2 separate regions of the Homo sapiens genome follow, and region 1 is linked to region 2. The links are contacts of gene promoters, found by promoter capture Hi-C in human tissues and cell types (Jung and others, 2019). All regions are on one chromosome and are shown on one strand. Each heading gives the region's core, a stretch centred on a gene start or on the middle of the fragment in contact. The rest is flanking DNA. Distances are from core to core; before and after follow the strand shown.

Region 1 (7,592 bases), core at 1,624-4,123, 520 kb after region 2:
TTACTTTGACCAGAAAAGTCCTTGTCACTGTTTCCAAAAGGGGTCCTGAAGATTATCCTATACAGTCTTTGCATTTGCAATCAGAAGCTGGGGCTGAGGGACGGTAAGTTTCCTGACCAAGGCCAGTAGCTGGTCAACAGCAGAGCCTGGTCTTCAATCAAGGCGAAAGCTGTTTGCTCTGGGTCTCACTGTGGCAGGGCCCAGGACAGCAGGGATTTGATGCTGTCTCCCACCCAAAACCACCCAGAGTCATTGAGTGTAATCAGGAGACCAGTGCTTAAGGGGCACCTCCTCAGGCCCTCAGCACTGAAGGGGAGCAGGGAGGAGATTGAGATGTACCCAGCCCACAGCCTAGGCACCAGCCGTCCAGGGACACGGGCCTACACTGTGATGCAGGTGGTGGGCGCCATGGCATGTCCCAGTGGCTTCCTCTCTGTCTACTCCCAGAATTTACAATTTTGACCCTAAGAGAATACCAACCCTAAAAGCCTAAATTTTCTCCTTACACTGTTGTGAGTTGAAAAAGCTGTGCTCAAGGGTACACAAATGTTACCAGTGGAAGGTGTCCAGGTTCTTGGCATTTTGAACAAAGAATTGGACAAAATGCACAAACAAAGCTATGAAAGAATAAAGCAAAGAGAGCATAGATTTATTGAAACGAAAGTATACTCCACAGACTGGCAGTGGGCTTGAGCAAGCACCCCAAGAACGCTGGTTACAGAATCTTCTGGGCTTTAGATACCCTCTAGAGGCTTCCCATTGATTACTTGGTTCACACCCTATGTAAATGAAGTAGTGGCTCACAACCAATCTGATTGGACATGGAAGGTGACCAATCAGAGGCTAACATGAAGTTACAAAGTTACACCCTATGCAAGTGAAGACTAGGCCTACAATCAGTCTGATTGGTTGCAGGAGGGGACCAATCAGAGGTACTTTCATTTTTAATTTGCAAGGCAGAAAAGCAGGAGGGGTGGGGGGAGCAAGTTGCAAAGGGAGTAGCCTCGGATCCTTTTGTTACTTGGGTGTGGAGAGATGGGGTTTTCCTTTTTATTCAGTTCTAGGAAACCAGTGCAAATTGGCCTTAGGTTCTCTGTCTCCAGACCCTATTCTCCTGCCTCACAAAGATAGGTGTACCTTTTTGTTAATTCAACCACTGACACACAAAGTTACTGCCTGTGCTAGCTGAGTGTCTGACAGCAAGTCAGAAGGCAAATGGTCTGTTCTCGGCCCTCACCCGCTAGCCAGGTGTTCTTAGGCTCTCCTCTCCGAACCTCAGTTTTGTCACTTGCCAAATGGGATATCTTGCTTCCTTAACTGGCGAGATTGTGGTGAGGATTAAGTGAACCCTTGGAGATGAAAGGCTTTTGTGATTTGTAAAGTTTGTTATACTAGACACTAGATTAGTGTCATATCATAAACCCCTGCCTCTCTCCACAGTTCTACTAGGAATTGGCCTCTTTTGCCCAAGAATTGAGATATAACCCCTTACCTTTTCGAGAAGAGCTGGAAATTCCTGATCCCCAAAGGAATGATTCAGAGTGGAACTTTACACACATTCAAGTAGATCTCCGAAAGAAAGATTTGGGGGCCAGAGCCCCTCAGTCAGTTCTGTTAAATGGCTCTGCTGAGATGACGAAGAGGATTTAGAAAGAGAATAGGTACAAAGCCATAGGAGACCAACTCAAAAAATAGCACTGGCCCCATTTATACCTTCCTGCTTCCCTGGAGCCAGAAAAAGTGGCACCTACAGCCTTCACTGCTTGGTCTACCCTGCCACCTTGTGGCTATTTGCTAGAATGCACCAGTAGAACAGCCTCAGAGAAAGCAGGGACCAGTAGGAACCCTTAATCATGCACTCACTCCTTTGCTCCGTCACTCAACAAACCTGTACAGACGCTCACAGTTGTTCAGGCTGAAGAAATTCACAGGCTGGAAGAAGAGAGGGACTGAAGGGAGGGTAAATGGAGAAAAGAGACTTGCTAGGCAGGGGTCTTGGTGTTTGCAAAGACACTGAAGCCTCACAGGTTTGGGAAATGGTGAGCTTCTCCATGTGACTGAAGAATAGGGTGCACCAGGTAGAAATGATGGGAGATAGATTATAGCCTCACTATTAGAAAATGATATGTATGAAACTGTAAGCCTCTGTACGTTAGGAAAAAAAAAACACAAACAAACAAAAAACAAAGAAAGACACAACTTGGTCCCTGGAGTGCAGGGCAATTCAGGTTACAGGTTACAGGTTACAGGTTACAACCCTCCGCAAATGGCCCCCAGACTTCCATGGCCCTGCTGTCCTGAGACTCCTAGGAGGAAACACTTACTCTGAATCCCTCGCCATGATTAAAATCAGTTTCTAAATGGGGTAGGATCTTGTGTAATCTCAAGTTTGAAAGGGACCTTAGAGTCATTTAATCCAACCCTCCCTGCAAGCCAAGATTGCTGCCAACTCACCACACATCTTAAGCTTAAATCACCTTCAGTGATGAGTTCAGATGCTCACCCAAAGCCCGTTCCATCTTTAGACACAGGAAATCCTTTATTCTATCAAGCTGAGTTCTTCCTCTTTATAATTCCTGTTCATTGATATAAGGTTCCCCCCGCCAGGGTTCTGTCAAAGAAGTAATCAGATACATGAATGTATATGAAGAAGGTAACCATTTAGTGGCAGCACTGAGGTTTCTGGAAATAGGAAATCATGGTAGTATTATTTCCGAGGAACTAATACTGGCATAGGCCTTGGGGGAGCTGTGTCCTAGTCCTTATAGAATTTCTTTGCTTAATGTCACTTGGCTTCCTTTCCTTTATGATAGAGTTGGATTCGATCAGAATTCTCACCACTGGTTCTAAGTCAGAATCATCTGGAGAGCAAGAAGCAGAATGTCTGAAATCTTCCTATGGTACAGAACTGCTGGATGAGACCATCAGTGGGGTAAGCTCAAATACTCCATGATAATTCAAGACATGATTAACTATAATAGTCTCCAGTTCTTGTTGAGGTTTTTGTCAAGCCCATGATGGCCTGGTATGTAAGTTCTTGGTGATTCCTATTTCTTAAAGACCTACCTAGATCTACAGCTTTCTCCCATCTGCATGATCAAAGTGTGTCGTTCACAGAGCACAATTATTTTGTCCTGTCGTGCTCTTTTGGACAGAGACCCACCAGTGACATAAAAGACAAAACTAGCTAGAGAAGAAAAAAGAGACGTATTGCCTGATCTTAGCTGAGTGCCATGACCTTCTTGTTCCCCATTCACCTCATCTGTAAAGAGGGAAGACAAACCCACTTCAGTGAGTTGTCGTGAGGGTAATTGAGACCGTGAGTGTAAAGCCTACTGGCAATGAGAAGGCTCTCCAAATCTCAATTCCCTGAGTCTTTGACAGCGAGAAGAAAGTGAAAACGAGAAGCTAGGGTGGTGCCTTTTCTGAGAGCATTTTTCTTCATCTTTCTTCCCATGAACAGCCTCTGTTGAATTGTATCATGTCCCCACAAAATTCATACGTTGAAGTCCTAACTTCTAGTACCTTAGAATGTGACCTTATTTGGAAATAGGGTCGTTGCAGATATAATTAGTTAAGTTGAGATCATTAGAGTGGGCCTTAATCTAACACAAGTGATGACCTCATAAAAAGGGAAGAACTTTGGATACAGAGACACAAACACAGAAACACCATGTGAAGATGAAAAGATTGAGGTGATGCTTCTACCAGCCAAAGAGTGCCAGATTGCCAGGAAATGACCAGAAGGTAGGAGAGAAGGCTGGAACAGATTCTTCCTTACAGCCCTCAAAAGAAACCAACAGTGCCAACACCTTGATCTCGGACTTCCAGCCTTCAGAACCATGAGGCAATAACATTCTATGGTTTAAGCCATTTCAGCTGGTGGTACTTTGTTTCAGCAGCCTTGGCAAACTAATTACACCGCTAGAGGTGACTCCTACTGGTGACATCAAAGGACAGCTCTGTCCAGATGGAAGGAGGCACTGAAGTTCCACAGAACAAATGGGAGACACACGAGAACCCTGAGAGAGCCTCTCCATGGGCCACCAGCTCAACATGGCTGTCCACCTTGTACTGCCGTGAATGGACAATTTGCCATTCTGAACATGCCCCTTCTCAAGATATGCAGAATCCATAGGAACATCAGTTTTTTAGTATACTTTAAGTTCTGGGATACATATGCAGAATGAGCAGCTTTGTTATATGGGTATACATGTGCCATGGTGGTTTGCTGCACCCACCAACCTATCATCTACATTAGGTATTTCTCCTAATGCTATCCCTCCCCTAGCCCCCAGCTCCCGACAGGCCCCAGTGTGTGATGTTTCCCTCCCTGTGCCTATATGTTTTCATTGAGGAACATAATTTATTAGCCATAGTTTTATATATTTTGGTGTTTCCTTGTAATTTTCCTTCCATATATGTCCATGTTTTGTTTTGTGATTTTGACTACGAACCTTTGAGGGCTGGAACCACGTTACAAACCTCACTGGGAGTCAGGTGATGTTTGATAAGAATTCTTGGTGTGACCTTAAGCATGTCACCTTTCTTTTCAGGCCTGGTTTCCTTGCCTATGGAAGAATTATTATCACTAAGCTCTCTCCAGTTACAATATTCTGTGATCCCAACTCCATATGTATTTACATAACCAACCTGCCTTCTTGGGGTCCTAAAGGGAAAGAAAGACCCAGGAAACTCATCTTTTAGATATGTTGAGCAGCTGTCATCTGGGGTTAAATGAGTCAGCCTCATTTAATAAGGGGCTAGACCCCAAACGTTTGGGAGCAATGTAGTACCCAGGGGCTGTAAACCCCACTAGGTCTCCTTCCTAGACTCCAAAGTCCTCCTGCCTGGGCATCTGTCTTTCTAGAAGGCCACTTTTTTGTGTTAATCTTTTTTCTTTTTTTCTCCCATGAGTCATAGGGAATGAGAGAAGGCCACTTTCTTAGTGAGTGCTGAAGCTTTCTCTTCTTTGGAGGCAGGCCCTGGATGCTATATTTCATGTAATGGGCAGCCTTCCCATGGTAGGGCTGGGCTTCTGTGTACTGTTTTGAAGCTTCCTATCTCTGCTCTGGGATGGGAGGAACATTCACTTTCCAACTGGGTACAGTATTTTGGGTAAATAACATTTTGTTTCTTACCTTGGAGGGATTACAGCATGCCTTGGCCTCCACTATAGAGAAGCTTGGGCCTAGTCAAAGAAGTGTAAGGGTCCTTCTAATGGCAAACTCCCCAGAAGCGTGGCTATCTGTGAAGCGTAAGGGTCCTTCTAATGGCAGACTCCCCAGAAGCATGGCTATCTGTGAAGCGTAAGGGTCCTTCTAATGGCAGACTCCCCAGAAGCATGGCTATCTGTGTGTAAATTATGCTCCTTTGGTTCCAGGAAATAGACTCATACAGGCCAGTCCAAGTAACGGCAGTGGTGTAGAAATGAAGGCAGTGACCCCATTATACAGTGGTTATAAGAGGGATGGATTATCCTAGAAATCTAAGACTAGAAACCCCCACACAATTATAAGCTTCATAGAACTAGATCCTGAAAGGTCACCCTAGTTCTGCAGACCTCATTCTGGAGCTTTGCCGTTAATGTGGCCCAGCTACTCTTCAGGGGTCAGCTTTTCTCTGCTCCTATTCCTCATTCTAATTCTCTTAGTGCTTACCAATGCATGTCTCTGATAGAACACAGGACAACTTATTATTATTATTAATTTTTTTTTTGAAACAGAGTCTCACTCTGTTGCCCAGGCTAGAGTGCAGTGGCACGATCTTGGCTCATTGTAACCTCCACCCCCTGGGTTCAAGCAATTCTCCTGCCTCAGCCTCCCTAGTAGCTGGGATTACAGGCATGCGCTACCACGCCTGACTAATTTTTGTATTTTTAGTAGAGACGGGGTTTCGCCATGTTGGCCAGGCTGGTCTCGAACTCCTGACCTCAAGTCATCCATCTGCCTCGGCCTCCCAAAGTGCTGGGATTACAGGGGTGAGCCACCGTGACCAGCCTTATTATTAATTATTACTATGAGTGAGACAGAGAGAGAAAATGGAAACCCAGATTTCAAAGGGAATAGCTCATTTCTCCAAGAAGCCTGAGGCCTAACAATTGAATTGAACTGATTAAAGTTCTAATGACAACCACTGTGCGAACTCAGCCTACCCGGACACCTTTAGCTGCGGGACCTTGGACTAGTTCCTCCTTCCATTTCCCCATGTCTAAAACGGAACATTTGTAACCAGGCATGGTGGTGGCCCCTGTAGTCCCAGCTACTCTGGAGGCTGAGGCAAGAGGATTGCTTGAGCTCAGGAGTTCAAGTGAGCTATGATGGTGCCATTGCCGCACCCCAGCCTGAGTGACAGAGCAAGACTCCATCTCTAAGAAAAATAAAATAATAAATAAATAAATAAATAAATATTAAAAATTAAAATGGAACATTTGCCTCTGGTTTTCCTTCCCTTAGGGTTGTGTAAAGAGCAGGAGCCTGTTCTCCACTCTCCACCCCAGGCTCTGGGCGGCAGTAGGAAAGTGCCTTCAGCCCTCCTGCCTCAATCCTTTCATGGGTCAGGTGCAAGATTTGAGCTAGGTGATCTTACCACCCCATCCCTTCCAACTACTAAATAGCTCTGCATAATTCTAACCACCCCTTCCCTTCCAACTACTAAATAGCTCTGCATAATTCTAACCACCCCGCTTCTCTGGGATTACCCCTTACACATCCTCATCACACTGATCCTCAGAAACCTATCCTCTAAAAATCCCACAATGTAGAACACCACGCATGTTCCATGTATGGGTGAAAAGCTGCATTTACATCTTGCTTTTTAGTAAACATTTTATATTCCCTTTGCCCTGGCTTATCTGCTTAGAGACTTTTCTTTTTAGTTATTATTGATTGTCAATTGGCTGCAGTTACTCACTCTTTGATCTTCCCTTTTGTTTAAATGGCCACCCACACTATCTGCCCTCGCCCCTCCATCTCTCTATTAAACAGTAATGAAATGCAAACAAACTTGGAGGTACTCTGGGAGCAAAGGGACCCTGGGGCCAGCTTCCCTTAGGCCTGTGAATTGTCATTCCTGAAGCTGTCTGTTTTGTAAGTTCTCCTGCCAAGTTTCTATGGGAGCAGAGGGATCATTTTCTCCCTTTTCAAAGAGCAGGGTGAGTTGAGGCCTCGAGCTGGCAAGTCCTTTAAAGTCATTTTCAAAGGAAACCTGAGCTGAAAGGCCATGCAGCTGGCAGAGGGTGCTGTGCCTTTCTGAGGCTCTCTGTGGGGTGCTGGGTGGTCAGCTCCCATGGCTTCCCAGCACGTGCTCGGAGCCTGCTGCAAAGGCACTGCCAAGGGACACGGCTGCCCAACAAGTGGGCCCATGGCCCTGGGGACAGGCTCAACTCCACATGCTCTCCCCACTGCCACCCAGGAACAGGAAGGGGGGTGTGCAGGCTTCTCCTCTGGGCCAGTGACCAGAACCACACTTGTCCTCACTGTTCTCAGGTCAAACTTGATCCTTGGCGTTTTTTGAGGTAAAATAAAACTAGGTGCAAAGCAAGCTAGGGTGAACTTACATCTGAATCAGGGAATCATAAATGGTGTAGTTCA
Region 2 (7,707 bases), core at 1,795-4,294:
CTGGCTCCAGGCATTACCTGCCATGCCTCTTTAGAAGCTTCCCTCTTCCAACCAGTGGCCTCCATCCTACCTCCTGCCCTCCCAGGATTCAGTTTTCTAAGTATAAAGCTGTTTGAAACCATACATGACTGAAGTTAGAGGGGAGCTTACCTTTGTCATCTACCCTAATTCTTCATTGAACAGATGGACAAACTGAGGCCAAGGGAAATTAGTGGCTTGCCCAAGGTCACAATGTCAGCCAGGAGCAGAGCTGGGCTATGTGTCTCCTGACTCCCAGTTCAGTGCTCTCTCCATTGAGCCAAGATGCCTGGCATCAAATGATTGAGGCTTTACAGGGTTGCTGTGCCTAGAGATGACTTTCTGTACCATATTTTCTTTGGTAAGATTTCAAGCTAAATATCTCTCTCAGCTCTAAAATATTTATACCGAGTATCAGGGGTCTGTGGACACCATTGCTTCATTAAGTTTGGCAGTAGAGGCAGCATCCCCAGCAGTAGCAGGGAGCCTGGTGGGTCAAGTACAACTCACCCCTCTTCTGGGGAGATGTGGCCTCAGTGTGGGGGGGCCCCAGTGAACCATTTGCTGAAATGATATAAACTTCATTTGCAATTCTTGGGGTCTGTAACGGCCACGTGAGTGATGAAGAAACACACATTTAATTAGCAGATGTTATGTTCTAGATTCCACGCTGAGCATCACAATGGCTAAAGCTGGGGCTTTGTAGACAGTCATATAGGTTTAAGTCCCAGTTCAACTAGTTATTAGCTGTTAAATCTTGTGCAAGTTATCTAACCTCTAGACTTTAGCTCACATATCTGTAAAATGGAGCTGCTGCTGCTGTTACCTACCTGTCAAGTTTGTTATTGAATGAAATAAATTAATATTTATAAAGCACCAGAACAATGCTTTCTAAGCACTTACCAGGTAAGTGCTGTATAGTGATTGCTATATAGTAAGTGCTATATGGTGATTGCTGTTACTATGCAAATTAAAATTATATTCACATAAAACATTAACACGTATTTTTTACTAGGATGAAAAGATACAGATTATATACATTAGAATTGCTACCTATGAGTCTATATGGAAATTTTTTTTTTTTTGTAAAAGCAGCCAGGCACGGTGACTCATGCCTGTAATCCCAGCACTTGGGGATGCTAAGGTAGGCAGATCACCTGAGGTCAGGAGTTTGAGACCAGCCTGGCCAACATGGTGAAATCCCATCTCTACGGAAAATACAAAATCAGCCAGGTGTGGTGACGCATGCCTGTAATCCCTGTTACTTGGGAGGCTGAGGCAAGAGAATCACTTGAACTTGGGAGGTGGAGGTTGCAGTGAGTCGAGATTGTGCCATTGCACTCCAGCCTGGGCAACAGAGCGAGACTCTGTAACAACAACAACAACAACAACAACACCACAACCAGGCAAGCCATTCTAAAGCCCCTGCTTTTAATCACAGCAGATACTGTTTTGTTATTATCCCACTGAGAAGATGAATAAACTGAGGTTAAAATAGTGTAAATCAAGGCATCAAACATCCATGAAGCGGCAGGAGAAGCACTTGGAAGATGGTTTCTGGTATCAGATGGGTGATTTTAAGTCCCTCTTTTTCATCACTAAACTTCAAGATCTGCTGGCTGTCCAAAATTCATACTGTTTGAAGAGCCTGCTCAGATTCTGCTAGCCACACCAAGCTTTTGGAGAGAGTGGAGTCAAGAGACGTGTTTTCCAATTGTAGGAAGTGTTGTTTCTAATGCATGCGATGAGCTTCGTCAACAAGTTTATACAAATAGATGGGAAGAGTGTAATGTGAGAAACTGAAATAAAACCAAAATGCCCTAAAAGACAGGATTGGCTAAATAAATTATGCCTATCCATATAACAGAATATAGGTAGCCCATAATGTACTACTACGGAATATGACCTAGAAAAATATTCATGACGTATTATTTTTTGAAAATGTCACAATGTGGTATATAGAATGTATGTGGTGTACAGAATGTGTGTGTATATACACACACATACACTTGTACATGTACAGAAAAATGGTAAGCGGGATGTACATATCGTAATGTTAACAGTAGTCATCTCGGGTGGGGTTTTATGGAAGAGTCTTACTTCTCTTTTCTTTCATCTATATTTTGTATTTTTTCTAGAATAAACCCATATGATTTTTTAAAAGGAAAAATAATTTATTAAAAATAGCAGCAGAGGCATGTATAGTAAAGGCTGTTTTGCCTGTGGGTGGTGCTCCTCTTCTGCGCTTCTATAATCAGCTTGGAAATAATCTTGTCTGCTCCTGCCTGGCTGATGCAATGCTCCTACCTTTGTGCACAGGTGGCTGTTCTTGCACAAGGCCATTGCAGCATGGATCCTATTGCACAGTTATTCAGTACACAGTCAGCTACAAGCACTGACATAGAGCTTGGCACATGTCTGCAAACCCTACCCACATGCTCGGATATGTTTGAAATGAATGAATTAATGAACCGGTCTGGGGTCAACAGCTTGAATTTGTATACAGGCTCCGCCATTTATAGGCTAGGTGAGTCCTAGGCTCCTGATCTGTACTGCAGCAATAGTAATCATAACTTAAGAGACCTCCAATTGTGTTTTGAAAATGGCAAAGTGCTGGTCACAAGATGGCTGGGGAAGCCGAGAGAGAGTTTATTATTATTGCTCCATCTACTAACAAATTTACATCTCCCCATCCCTCATTTCTCCTTGGCTGCCTAAGGCATCATGGTTACCGTAGCAGCCAGATGCTGATGATGCCTCCAGGGGACGGCAAGGTGAAACTGAGCCAGTTCCCAGTCCTCACCTCCCCATACTCTTTCCAGGCCAGGGTGAGATGGTCTGAAGCTCAATCTCTGGTCAGGTCCCCCACTCTGTCTTGGATCATTTAGACCCACAAACTCTGCCTCTGCAATCTCAGTTCAGGGCCTTGAAACACCTCTTCAGAGACTCCCTCCTCCCCAAGCTCTGTCTTCTGGCAACCTGCCTGGTTGCCGTGGAAACAGGTTCCACTGCGGACAAAGGAGGGAGCTGGGTCCTGCTTCCTCCTGGTCTTGTCGATGAGGATTTTTAGACCGTGGAGACTGCGCTGCCCTGCCCTGCACCTACCCTCACTCTCCGTGTTCTCACTAAGGTGGAAATTGCCTTCCCTCACTACTGACGAGACCATGTGTAAAAGCGTGACCACAGATGAGTGGAAGAAAGTCTTCTATGAGAAGATGGAGGAGGCAAAGCCGGCTGACAGCTGGGACCTCATCATAGACCCCAACCTCAAGCACAATGTGCTGAGCCCTGGTTGGAAGCAGTACCTGGAATTGCATGCTTCAGGCAGGTGAGTAGCCCAGGAAGGTGGATCCCTGCAGGCCGCCTCTAGGTCCCTAGCTCTGGGGCACCTTCCAAGGAGAGGAAGATTACGTAGAACCCAAGTGTTTAGCTTCAATCTCACTATTAGGCTGGCGTAGACTGGAAGTCAGAGAAAGAGTCCCTAACTGGGAACTACGACACTTGAGTTGGATTTCAGCTCTTCTACTGATCACCTGTGTTACTCTTCCTCTCTGAGTCACAATTTTTCCGTCTGGAAAATAAAGACATAGAATATACGTATGAGTCCTACACACTGACATTTTACATATTTTCTATTTTAACAGTCTCTTAAAAAGTAGTTTAAAACCAGAGAAGAAGGGTTTGAGGCCCACTGGGGGTCGAGACGTCCGTGCTCTGGTCCTGGGACCGGTTTAAATCTATTTAACTCAACTTAATTTCACTTAAAATATTGAATACATGAGATGTGCCAGAAACTGGCTCTATCATTGGCTCCATGGCTGTTGAGGAACTCGATTTTCTTCTTGGACCTGGCTTTCTCCTTTTGCACAGTGAGAGGTTAGCCTGTGGTCCACAGAGCAGCAGGATCGGCATCACCTGGAATTTGTTAAGAAAGCAGAATCTTGGGCCCCTTTTAGATCTGAATCAGAATCTGATTTCAAGAAGAGTTCTAGGTGATTAGTATGTAAAAACTATCTGAGATGAATTTCTAGCACTCTTGTTCATGGGTCCAGAGTGTAGGGGCTTACCTTTGAGACATAAGATGGGGAGGCTGAGTGGTGCAGCCTGGAAGTCAGAAGCAAGGCCTTCCTGCTTGCCCTGGTTCAGCCAATTCACTTCAATTCAGGAAACATTACTGGGCACCTGTTACGTGCTGGGCGCCGGTTCTGCCTCTAGCTGTGTGTACATGGATGCCTCTCTCACTCTGTCTCAGCATAAAAGAAAACATTAATTAGGTGATTTCCAGGTCCCTCTAGTTACGACATTTTTCAATCCAGGTTTTGTAGTCTGGTCTGAGAGAGGAAACAGTCCCCAAAAGATGTGTGAACAAGAAGAGAATGAAAATGTGAAGCTCCTAAACTGGCTGACAGGAGGGGTGTCAAGGGCTGGACACTTACAGGCAGGATCAGGAGCTTCTTGAAGACCTGGAAGGCTGTGGGGGCTGAGTGGGGAGGGCTTGTGGCTGCCCCAGACCTGGCTGGGGACCTGTAATCCCCAGCTGGCCCCAGTCAGGCCTGGGAGACTACAGGCCTTGGGGATCTGGGCACAGACTGCCTCCACCTCCAGGCCTTGTGATGCATTAACTCTGACACTGGCCTGGACGTTGATAGCTAGTAATGGTGTCATTTTCTCCTAATTTGGATCTAGCCTGTTCACAGTCAGTGTTAACAGATAGAAATGTGCAGATGGATTATGTGTTTCTTATCTGGTGTGAGAAGGAAGGACTCACCTAGTGCACCAAGCGCATTTTGCCCATGAGGAATAAGAATGACGCCCAATGCTGGGGTGGTGGGAGTTAGGCCTCTGGAAAGCACTGAGGAGGTAGAGCACTGCTGGATGCCCGGTGACATCCTGAGGAACCTGCTGTAGTCCTAGGGGCACTTGCAAGGCTGAGTGGCTTCCTGGGGAAAGCTAATGAACCCAGGGCGCCGGCAACACACTTCCTCCACCTCCAGGCTCTGCTTAGCCTCCACGTCCCCTCACGCCATTCCTAGGGCTGTTTCCACCACCTCCGCCCGTCTTCTATTCCTCCCTCTCCTCCCGTCTCCGCAGGTTCCACTGCTCCTGGTGCTGGCACACCTGGCAGTCGCCCTACGTGGTCATCCTCTTCCACATGTTCCTGGACCGCGCCCAGCGGGCGGGCTCGGTGCGCATGCGCGTCTTCAAGCAGCTGTGCTATGAGTGCGGCACGGCGCGGCTGGACGAGTCCAGCATGCTGGAGGAGAACATCGAGGGCCTGGTGGACAACCTCATCACCAGCCTGCGCGAGCAGTGCTACGGCGAGCGTGGCGGCCAGTACCGCATCCACGTGGCCAGCCGCCAGGACAACCGGCGGCACCGCGGAGAGTTCTGCGAGGCCTGCCAGGAGGGCATCGTGCACTGGAAGCCCAGCGAGAAGCTGCTGGAGGAGGAGGCGACCACCTACACCTTCTCCCGGGCGCCCAGCCCCACCAAGTCGCAGGACCAGACGGGCTCAGGCTGGAACTTCTGCTCTATCCCCTGGTGCTTGTTTTGGGCCACGGTCCTGCTGCTGATCATCTACCTGCAGTTCTCTTTCCGTAGCTCCGTATAAGATTCCGTGGTTGGGCCCAGAGCCTGTCGAGGGTGCCAGTTAGCTGATGCGAGGGTAGAGGAGAGACGTGGGTTGAGAATAGTGTAAACTTCTAGCGCTGGTGATGTCACTGACTCAGTGGGGATCTTGGACAAATTATACAGTTTTTCCATCTATAAAACTCAGGGTTTGGGCAAGATCATTGGTTTATCATAGTGAAACCCAGGACCCCAAAGTTCTGCGTAGGTGCCTCAGGGACTTTTGGATTTGGAAAGTAGGCTAAGCTAGTGGGTGTCTCCAACTCCTGATCTAAACACCCATCCTCCAACTCCTACCTCCTCCTCTTGCTTCGATCAGAACAGCTTTACTTTAGATAGGGTTCCATTTAAGATTTTTGTACCAAAAAAAAAAAAAAAAAAAGTTTAACTACTTTTAAAAAGTTTGAAAATTAGAGGACTGGGTGATCTCAAAAGGGCTTTCCACAGTAATGAGCTCGACCTTGCTCTTATTAGTCCCTCACCCCTGCCCCTCATGATCTCCCACTTTCTCTAGCTGCAGCCTTAAATTAGCTTCTTTGCCCACCCTGTGAGCCTCATCCGTGATTCTGCCTTCACACACGCAGCAGAGGTTTCCCTTGAAGTGCAAGAGGTGGGAGATCAGGCTGTTCCTTTGCTGCCAGGTACACAGGGTCTCTTTTTTTTGTTTCTCAGATTCCAGCTTCTTTCCACTCAGGGCAGATTCTGGGGTCTGCCTGCCTGAAAGATGGTGGTTGGGGTGGGGTCTCATAGAGTTAGGCTTCTCACCCACTGCGTATTAACTGGCAGAGAATTTAGGGGAGGTTCAGAAGACAGAGTTTTAGAAGCAAAGCACAAAATCTCTGGGAGGCATTATAATGGAGGGTCTTCAGAGTTCGGGGACCAAGTCTAGCAGATTCTCAGCAGTGCTGATGGCCAGAATTCAGGAGCAGGGGCCTGGCCTCCTGGGTTCTTTGCTGAAATTATAGTTGAATGGCTTTCTCACATTGGCCAAGCATGAGGCCTCTTGCCAAAGATCAGCTGTCCCCCTAAAGCCACAGGGATGGGGTATCTTCAGCAAGAGAGAGGGCGTTAAAGATGTAAAATGCTTTGTCCATGGGGAAGTGCACAGATATGTGGGAGAACCTTACAAGGCTCTAAAATGAGATGTGATATGGCTTGAAATGGGAGGAGACACTTTCTGACAGTGGGGGGTCTGGAATGGAATTGGTGGGGACAGGCAGCAAGCTGCACTTTTGAGGGGCCTCATTTACCCCACCTCTGTTAAAAACTTGACTACTCTCCTCTTTAATAGAAAGTCACCATCATCTGTAGTGATGGAGGAAGGGGGTCACTTATATAAAGATGGGACACTTTAATAAAGACAGGATATCTTCCATAAGGCTTAGTAGTCATTAATGTGTGTTTGAGATTCCCCCACTGTCCCAGATCTGTAATGAGCTATTGGTCCCCTCCATCCCGCCACCCTGTCTCCCCTTTTCTCCCTTCTGCCCCCTGACCCCACTGCCACATAAGGCTCTATCTAGCTCCAGTTTTTGGCCAGTCTCGTCCACAGTCAGGAGGGATGGAAGTCAGTCATTCAGGGGATCAGCATAAGGTCAGTTTTACTCCTATCCTGGCTCGAATTCAAGTAAGCAGCGATGGCTTCCTTTACTTCATTCACAGAGTATTTATTTCTTCATCTAGTCCGCATATCCTGAACACCTGCTATCTAGCAAGTCCTGATTTACTTGCTAGACAGTAGGTGTTCAGAATATGCAGACTAGAGGAAGAAATGAATACTGTGGGTGCAGCGGAATATAGGGGGTGCTCTCTGGTTTCTCAGACATCTCTGCTTGCTACAGAAGTTTTCAGCCCTGGCTGTACTTCAGAAATTCTGGGGAGATTTTAAAGAAATATAAGTACTTAGCCTCTACCCCAGACCAATGGGATCAAAATTTGGGGGAAGTGGGACCTGAGCATCTGAATTAGAATAAAACACCCAGGTGATCGACCTGTACTGCCTGGTGTAATGCCTTCTAACTGAGGGATAGACTTCCTTTTGCATCTAGTTTTATGAAAAAT

Evidence for each region. The method cuts DNA at HindIII sites, captures the fragments that hold promoters and counts their contacts. A contact is called where the count stands out against the background at its distance.
Region 1: a contact is called between a fragment that was not itself captured here and the fragment with the promoter of RTP1 in region 2, in 1 of the 25 tissues and cell types used here (H1 embryonic stem cells).

Annotation. Positions count from the first base shown.
Region 1 is chr3:187,712,809-187,720,400 of GRCh38, forward strand. LOC100131635 (hCG1645011-like) reads left to right here. Exons shown (of 3, transcript NR_034062.1): 2 at 2,814-2,932. It also overlaps a transcript of RTP2 not described here. Among named protein-coding and RNA genes, the nearest start is that of RTP2, 14 kb to the left of the region's middle. The HindIII fragment of the contact is 4,270 bases long and covers 739-5,008 here.
Region 2 is chr3:187,194,442-187,202,148 of GRCh38, forward strand. RTP1 (receptor transporter protein 1) reads left to right here and starts at 3,045. Exons shown (of 2, transcript NM_153708.3): 1 at 3,045-3,346; 2 at 5,110-7,021. The coding sequence starts at 3,075. The coding sequence ends at 5,629. LOC101929106 (a long non-coding RNA gene) reads right to left here. Exons shown (of 5, transcript NR_110052.1): 3 at 4,787-5,672; 4 at 4,086-4,261; 5 at 2,649-3,589. The HindIII fragment of the contact is 12,407 bases long and covers 866-7,707 here.